Regions from separate parts of the Homo sapiens genome. Here region 2 is linked to region 1. Evidence: promoter capture Hi-C in 16 types of primary human blood cells and fetal thymus (Javierre and others, 2016). All regions are on one chromosome and are shown on one strand. The core of a region is centred on a gene start or on the middle of the fragment in contact, and the rest is flanking DNA. Distances in the headings are between cores, read along the strand shown.

Evidence for each region. Contacts are between HindIII fragments. The CHiCAGO score rates a contact against its expected background, and 5 or more counts as called.
Region 2: a fragment that was not itself captured here is called in contact with the fragment with the promoter of FRYL in region 1 in 3 of 17 cell types (activated CD4 T cells, fetal thymus and naive CD8 T cells); the score reaches 5.8 in activated CD4 T cells.

The regions. Positions count from the first base shown.
Region 1 is chr4:48,778,340-48,782,567 of GRCh38, reverse strand. FRYL (FRY like transcription coactivator) reads left to right here and starts at 2,289. Exons shown (of 64, transcript NM_015030.2): 1 at 2,289-2,490. RefSeq lists silencers at 2,244-2,353, 2,444-3,323. The HindIII fragment of the contact is 8,638 bases long and covers 1,279-4,228 here.
Region 2 is chr4:48,334,368-48,338,595 of GRCh38, reverse strand. No RefSeq gene overlaps it. Among named protein-coding and RNA genes, the nearest start is that of SLAIN2, 5.0 kb to the left of the region's middle. The HindIII fragment of the contact is 2,208 bases long and covers 738-2,945 here.

The DNA of each region.
Region 1 (4,228 bases), core at 1,040-3,539:
TTAGAATGAGAAACTAAGGTAGAGAGATAAAGTCTCTCTGAATGAGAAAGTACAACTTGTAAAATTCTCCAGGGTTAGAACTGGGGCTGTGTTCATCAACACTGAACATTCTTAAGAATAACCTCTACGTTGTAAGCTCCAGGTTTGTAGATTTTTAAAATTCTTCTTTGCTGTGAAATGCCAGTAGGAGTATTAGTACCAGGAAGTTGCATGTGTGGGCTAAAAAGTGATAAATGATCCTATTGTGGGCAAATATGAAATATTTAGAGAAAAGAATAACACAAATTATACTTGAAAGGTGATAATCTCAGCATAGTTGGTTCAATGCAAGTAAGAGAATCTAGAGGTTACTGTAGACTGCCTTCTCTAGTTTATATGCCCAGTCTGCTAGTGCAGCAAAAGAGGGCAGTAACAAGCTGGATATCATAGGGCAGGTGTTTTAGAAAGAACCTGAAAACATCACTTAGACCTTGAACAAAAGCTGCAGGTGTGTACATGCCTGAAACACTGGATATCTTTATCTCCAGAAGATCATACTAGATATCAGTACATAGTATCTTCTTCTTCTTATATTCTAATGTAGAATATTAGAACCCAGAAGCAGTCTCAGAGTTTGAGAGTGGTAAGTGAGTAAACCAGAAGTATTAGTTTAGCTTGGCTGCAGTTTTATTATACAGTAAAATCAGAATAGGCTAAGCATAGGGATTTAGTTATAGGGACTTAATAGGGAGGATGTGTGTATCTGTGAAGGCCATATAAATGCAACCCAGATAGTTCATCGTCTCTTGCCCCCACTAGTGATACCTAAACCACCTTCCTGCAACGTTCCCTTTTGTTTCCTGCTCTTTCATATTTTCGGGAATCCTCATGAAATTTTTCACCTGTATTTGGGGAAAAGTCCTATGAACTACCAACTACTGATGTTTACTTACCCTTCTCTGTCATCATCAAGCCCCTTTTCTAGGGTACTGCTGAGCACTGACACTTCCTTGGCACCATTAGATTATACTGGGGTATCACTGCAAATGTACTAAAGCCCCCGGGGTACACAGTCTTCAAGGTTCATCGGCAAAGAGGGAGAGAACACATAACCATTTTCCCCTAACATTCTTAGATGGGTACCGAAGCTGTACCTGTACTCAATTTTAGTGGAAATAAACCTTTTAGTTCTTACAGCTCCAGTGGGAAACTGGGGAAACTCTAAAGCAGACCCCGCACTAGGCTTCCCCATAATTTCTTCTCTTTTCAATGCGTGAGGTTCTGCTCCATGGTCAAGCTTCTGGTATCAGATTCCCTCTTTCCCTTAGACAGACTCGTTTTCTCCTGAGAGGCATCTCAGTTGTTCAAGTGACCTGGGGTGTTTTTCCTACAGTTCTAGCAAGGGGGAACGAAGTCCTACACTTTGAGGATGGCATAAGGGTACCATCTACTTAATTTTTTCAAAAAAGTAACAGGTCTCGTGGAAACGCGGGAACGTCACAGAGGACGTGACTTAAACGGAACTTGTAATGGAAATGATTTTCTAAATGAACAATTGCGAGACAAGCAAGGAAACCTCCAGGTTTGCAGATAACTTGATTAAAGCTCTTCCGGGTGGCAAAATGCCAGTGCAATCAATGGTATGAGTAGGGCGGACAGTGGATGAAACTTGTTGAGTAAATCTCAGGAGGAATTAGCACTGGACTTTCAGGTATTCTAACTCAATTCTAACCATTCCATTCTCTGGATCATTGGATAAGGTTCCGCAGGATCCGGGCGCCAGCTCTGGATACATTACTGATCGGGAGAAAATTTTGAATTTTTCTCTTGTCCCTTTCCAGCTTTCCTCAATATAGGATATGAGTTTGTCCTCGACCCCTAACAACATTTAAAGGTAAAGTCGCTCCTAGAAGGCAAAGCGGAGAGGACTTTGCGGCTGTGTTTCTCAAGCCCGTAAAGAGAGAGTAATAATGGTAGGGAGCGTGCAGACTAGCTCTTTCCTTGCCCAATCAAGTGTACAGGAAGATGTCCTTTCACCAATAAAAATAAAGTTCGCTTTCCGGAGGCGGGAGGGTGAGCCTTGACTGCCAGGGCTCCAAAGCAACGTTAGAGGCGAGGGCAGAGAATGATTAGAGGGAAGACCAACCCGGGAAAAGGGGCGGGGAGAAGGTAGGAGCAACTTTGAGCGGCGGCTGGCCAGGCCAGTGGAGGGCGAGGACTGCTGTTCCTGTTGTAGTGTTTCTCGCCAATCAGGAAGGCCAGGGGGCGGGCGGGGTAGGGAAGGGGTGGGAAGACCTCGCAGCACAGCCGGGCGCCCGTCGGGCTCTGGGAGAGAGCGAGAGAGAAATCCGGTTAAAATCAGAGTCGGAGGGAGGTTTAACCACAGATCGGTTCCGATCGGATTATTCCTTAAAGGGGACGCGCCATTGTCAAGAGAACGGAGCCAGGGGCCCGAGGGCGGGGACCGGCGGCGCTGGAGGAGCGAGGCAGCTGTACTAGGACTGGGAACGGGTAGGTGTTGACTGGGGAAAGGCGCTTCATTTTACTTTCTCTTCCAGCCCCGGGGCAGGCGCCGGGATGCCCGCCGCCGGCAGCCCAGCCTGGGCGGGAGACGAGGTCGTCGGCCCTCGCCAGCTGTCCTTCCTGGTGGGCGCCGAGGGAAGGCGGTCCAGGATGGCTGGCAAGCGGCGCGGCGCGGCCCGGGCCGGCGCTCGTAACGGACACCAAACCGCGGCGCAACCCCAGCCTCAACCGAAAGCCCGCCCGAGCTCCGGCGGTTCCGCCGGCAGCGCCGCGCGCCCGTCTCTCCCGCACGTCCCCTTCCCCTCCAGTGCCTGGCTCTTCTCGCGCGCGCCCGGGTACCCCTCGCGCGCCGCCTTCTCGCGCGTCCTGCTCTGGTCGCGCGCCGCCTCGCCACCGACTCGCGGGAGCCGCCCCGCGGGAAGGAAGGCGGTGGCAGAGGTGGAGGAAGACCGGCGACCACGGCTCCGCCGCCTCGGCTGGGAAGGGAGGGCTGAGGAGCAAACTTAGCGCGGCGGCTGGCGGGCCCCGGCGGGCAGGGCTGGCGGGGACCGGCGGAGCGCGCCAGCCCAGCCGGGCATTGTCCGCCTTTTCCCTTGCTCTGGTCTCTCCGCCCACTGCTCGCGGTCCTGGGGAGGGGTGCGGGCGCTGTGCCCGCGCAGCCCCGGGCCGTTGGCGTACCCCGGGACCCGGAGTCTTCCGGAGCCGGAGCCAGCCCTGCGGACACCGCGGCCACCGCCCGCGAGCTGACTCGGCCTGTAGATTGCCTGCTGCTCTCAGCCTCGGCACCGGGCAGGGTGCCTGGGCGCTGAGCTCTTCTTTGCAACTTTTATTTGCCGTTTGATGGAAGTTGTTGCTTCCGGGCGGCAGGTTCTTTGGGCACAGCCTGGTTTCCTGCGTTCTGGAGAGGCTGGTTTCTAGGGCGAAATGATTTATTGCTGCCGGTCTTTCCTGCCATCCTAGTTTAGTTCCTCGCCACCTAAAATCGCATTTTTGTGGATTTGCAATGATATGGGAGCATTAATCTTTCCTAGGCCAAGATTTGAAAAGAAAAAAAAGGGGGTGGGGGTTAGGGTGTGTGCTGGTGAGGAGCAAGAGTTCTTAGTAGAGCTGAGTTTGCCCTTACCTTTGAACTGCGGAAAATATTACTTCGATTCACTGGCTGGGGTTCTTTTGGAAGGGTAGGGGAAAAAAGACACAGCAAGACAGGTTGCCAGGGTCTGTCGGATTGGGGGGGAAAAAGGGTTTTGATGGAAGTAAAGTTGGTTTTATAAAATGCTGTGCTGCCTAGGAGATATCGTCTGTAAAGTTGATTCTGCTACTGAATTTACAGCCATTATAATTAGTACCAACAGCTTTTACTATTGATAAAAACTAGTATAAGACGTCTTTTCATCTTGAGCATTATCACTCTGCTTAATCTGTCAATACTTGCCGAGGAAATCAGAGATAGCACATTCCTTGTTAGAGGCCTTAGTGAAGAATGTTTTCATAAGCATTCATTTTTGACAGTTTCTTCTTGTGCAATACTTTATGTAGAGTACTTGCATGTGCAAGTTACAACCGTATAAACAAAGTAGCAGTGGGTGTGTTATTCTCTGGTCTTTTTTCTGCTACTCATTATCAAAAATAGCATTCCATCGTGTCTTGTCTTCCACTCTGAATTATTTTGTAAAATTAGTTCTCTAAAAGAGGGAATTCTGTTGGAACATGTGACCCAGTTTTTTTT
Region 2 (4,228 bases), core at 592-3,091, 440 kb after region 1:
ATTCTCCATAAAATAGCATCTGTGTCATTCCCCATCCTCTTAATCCTGTTTCATTTTTTCTCAGACACATCTCTCTCTCTTTCTTTCCTTCCTTCCTTTTCTTTCTTTTTTTCTTCACTGCCTGTCTCTCACCAGTAGAGTGTGAACTGCAGGAGAACAGAGTTCACTGTTATATCTCCAGTGCTTAAAACAGTGCCTACAACAGTGCCTAGTACATGGTAAGTGCTCAATACATGTTTTTTGAACGAGAGAGTTAATGGATTTACGCTAAGTGAAGTCTCCTAAAAGAGAATTTCAGATAAATATGGTTATATCTCAAATCATTGAAGTGGAAATTTGTAATTATTTTGAATGGTTGACTTTTAAAATTATATTTTCTCCTTCCAAAAGAGCAACATGTCATACCATATATGTCATCCTCAAAACTAGGTCACTCTCTACCTCCTGAGAGCCAACAGCCCTTAAGAATTGCTGAGGAGAGAGTTTTAAGTTCTCACTGAGAAGCATAAGGACAAGAATATTTCCTTTCTATCCTTAACCTTGCCAGGATCTTCCTCTTTCAGGTTAGCTGTGATACCCTGTCTTCTCTGGTGACTCAGAAGTGTTACAGCATGTTTTTAAAAGTCACTCTAAGAGTGACTTTTATATAGCTACAAGGAGCAGAGCTAGTAGGTGTCTGAAGTATGCATCACAGTTAGCCCAACTAGTTTTTCAGGTGTTGTGTTTTATGATAAGCTTGGTTTGTTGCTGGAAGAAGGATTTGTTTCTTTTCTAAGCAGGTGTGGCCCATTTTCATAACTTGCTCCTACATGCATGTTAGCTCTTAGTGAAACTCCTGACAAAGTGGAAAATATTACAAACCACTAAAAGTATTTGGAATGAAAAACTGTTACTCAATGGCTTAAAGATATTTAGCCATCCTAAAATCCTAAATCAAGGTGTGTGTGTGTGTGTCTATATAAGCACATGCTAAAAAGTAGTTTAGAAATTGCTAGACACAGAAATATTTGCATTTCCTTAGAAAATGCTCAGATTCTTTGACAAAACCTTTGCTATCCAATCCATCCATTTTTTAACATAACAGATCATTTCACTAGACAGTCCATCCGTTTAATCTTCATAGGTACACATGGTCAGTTATTTTCTACTTACCCTCTTTCATCTATTCCTCACCAGCATCCCTCCTCCAGATGTGCCTCCCTTTGATCTATCAAACGGCCCCTTCTTCACTGTCTTGGTACAATACAATTTTACAAAGGAGTCCCAGGAACCTTAAAGGTTAAGTATATGAGAAATTTTGAATTGAACGCTTGGTGGCAAAATGAAGGGGGGCTTTTTTAGGGAGATTCTCTGTCTAGAGGGTGGTCCCCTATCACACTGTTGGGGGCATATATTATATAGATGTAGGGGTGGGTAAGTCCGTGATCAGAGCAAAGGGTGAACAGGTTCTTGAACTGTTAGGAAGCTACCCAAAATGAAACAATACCGTGTCTTCCACCCTTTTTCTGGCAGCAGATGGGAAGATAAGCTCTTAAATAACATTTATTATTTCTTTTTTTTTCTTTAAGTAGTATATCAGTAGGACAGTGAAGTTGGAAGAGTGGAATATGAACCACTTCTGAACGTGTTTGATGTTCTACAGAAACTACTATTCAAAGATGGAAGAAAACTTGGAATAATCCAAATATTCAAGTCAATAAGATAAGTCCCAATAATCTGCCCTAGGATTTAAAATACATTATTCTGAGTATTGACTTAGAGATACAGTGGAGAGAGTAGATTATACATAGAGACTTGTATCAAGCAAAAGTAAATTAAGCTGCCATTGAGATACTTAAATAATTAGTCTTCTAGGAAGCTGTAGAGAATTCCATTTCTGAGTCTTTGGAAAACTCCTGGAGTATTACCCCGACTGACATCATCAACTATTCAATTTGCCCAAGTATGTCTACAAAGTTACTTTCTATTCATCATCCTTCTTATGTAAACAGTTATATGTGCCCTGGAAGTTTAATTCTATAAATATCCAGTTCTCCAAATTGGCCCAATAATAATAGTAGCTAATAGTTGTTAACCACTTTTATGACATGTGATAATTCATTTAAAACTCACAATAGTCTTTGGAGGTAGCTGCTATTCTCATCATCATCTCCATTTTACAAATGAAGAAACTGAGATATAGAGAGGTTAAATAATTTCCAATACTATAGCCAGGAAGTAGTGGAGCTAAATTAGACCCAGCTGGTCTGACTTCAGAATTGCACTTAGAATCCCCTTTGGCCCATGAGCATGATGAGTTCTCCATTCTTTTACTTAAAAGAGTATTGATACGTAGTCAGCTACCATCTGGGGTGGGGATTGAGGGATAATGTTGAGAACTTAAGCATCGCATTTGCAATACCAACAACACAATCTTCCTCTAACAGCAAGTTTGCCAGATTTGGTGTCTCAGCAACTCTGGAACCCAGCATTGAAGCAATCAGTTCTTTAGAGAGGGAGGTAGTTCGGCTGGATATCGTGGCTCACGCCTGTAATTCTAGCACTTTGGGAGGCCAAGGAGGGGGTGGATCACCTGAGGTCAGGAGTTCAAGACCAGCCTGGCCAACATGGCAAAACCCCGTCTGTATTAAAAATACAAAAATTAGCCAGGCATGGTGGCGGGTGCCTGTAATCCCAGCTACTTGGGAGGCTGAGGCAGGAGAATTGCTTGAACCCGGGGGGTGGGGGTGGAGATTGCAGTGAGCCAACATTGTGCCACTTCACTCCAGCCTGGGCATAAGAGCGAAACTCCATCTTGGGGGAAAAAAAAAAGAGAGAGAGAGGGAGGTAGTTCCTGGACCTCTTGCTCAAAATTTGGCTGTATACTTGGGCACTAGTCCAGGTACTGGAGAGATAGGTAGGAATGGCTGAAGACCCATCAGTCAGTGGTTTGCTAAAATAAAGCTTCAGCATCTGAGCTTCTCATTGGAAAAGTTAGTGAACTAGCCCAGCCTGTAGGAGTTTTATGGGGGCAGAAGTTAGCAGAAGGAGTCTTTTACCCAAGGCAGTAATAACACCATAATCAACAAAGCAAGAAGATCTGAGAGTCAGAATTTAGCGGCAAGAGTCCTGGGCCTCTTGCCCAGACTCTGTTCGGCAAGAGTCGAACAGAGAAGAAAAGTTCGAACGGGTCCTGATATAGGGAAGACTAGAAGCAGACATGAAAAGCCAAAGTATAGAGCCTGGGAAACAGACGAGAGCCAGGTGTACTGGGTTCAACACTAGGTAACAGGGTGATTCCTTGTGAATGCCAAAACAAAGTGGTTGCAGGCAGCTGCAACCTTTGTTTCCATGCCCTTTGCAAAGGGCATGTGGAAGAAACAGTTGCATTTAAGGGTTAGGGATTCTGTGACTTGGCAGGGTTGTGAGTTTCCAGCATTGAGACAAATTGGTAACCAGATCTGCTGGACTAGAGCCCAATCTGCAAAGCTCCCTAATGCAGAAGAGTCCACCGTTGTGTAAACAGATTCTATCTTCCCATAGTTCCTGGAAACCGGATAGCCTTCATCTCACATCTTCACTGTATTCTAGAGAAATGAGGGTAATGTGTTGGGCAGGGCAGAGTAGAGATGAATAGTTGGGTATGGCACAGGCGGCTACCTGTTGTATCAGTGGGTATGGTTTACCTCACATAGGGCACCTACACGTGAAGAAATGGACAACAGAACTGCTTTGTCTGTTGGCATGGTTGTCTTATTGGAGGACTGCATTATTGGAGGACTGGTTTCCTCTTCCCTACCAGGACAATCCTCCGAAGTTCTTTGAGCTTTTTCTACTGCCTATTTTTGCAGCCCAGGTCAGTTGATCAGGAGGTGTGGCCTTGTATTTGGTCCACCTTGAGTCAGATGCCGCTCTGCTTACTGAGTATTTTTATATTGGACTCAAATCATGATATGGAATCATTTGTAGACAGCAGACCCACCAAAATTCTGCTGCGCAGTGACAGCAGGGCAGATCACGGTGTTAACTGTAATCATCCTGGTAGGGAGAGGGTATTTATATACTATAGGACAGATGGAGAGTGTGTACTGCTTTCAGAGGTGGAATTGCAGGCTACCTGGGAGGCAATGAATTTCCGCAACCTCTCCAAAAGCAAAGATAGAAGACATGCCTTTCTATCTCTTCACCTCTGATGCATTCAGAGCTACATCATAATGTTGCACAAGGTCCCCTTTAAGAGTAGGTGTAG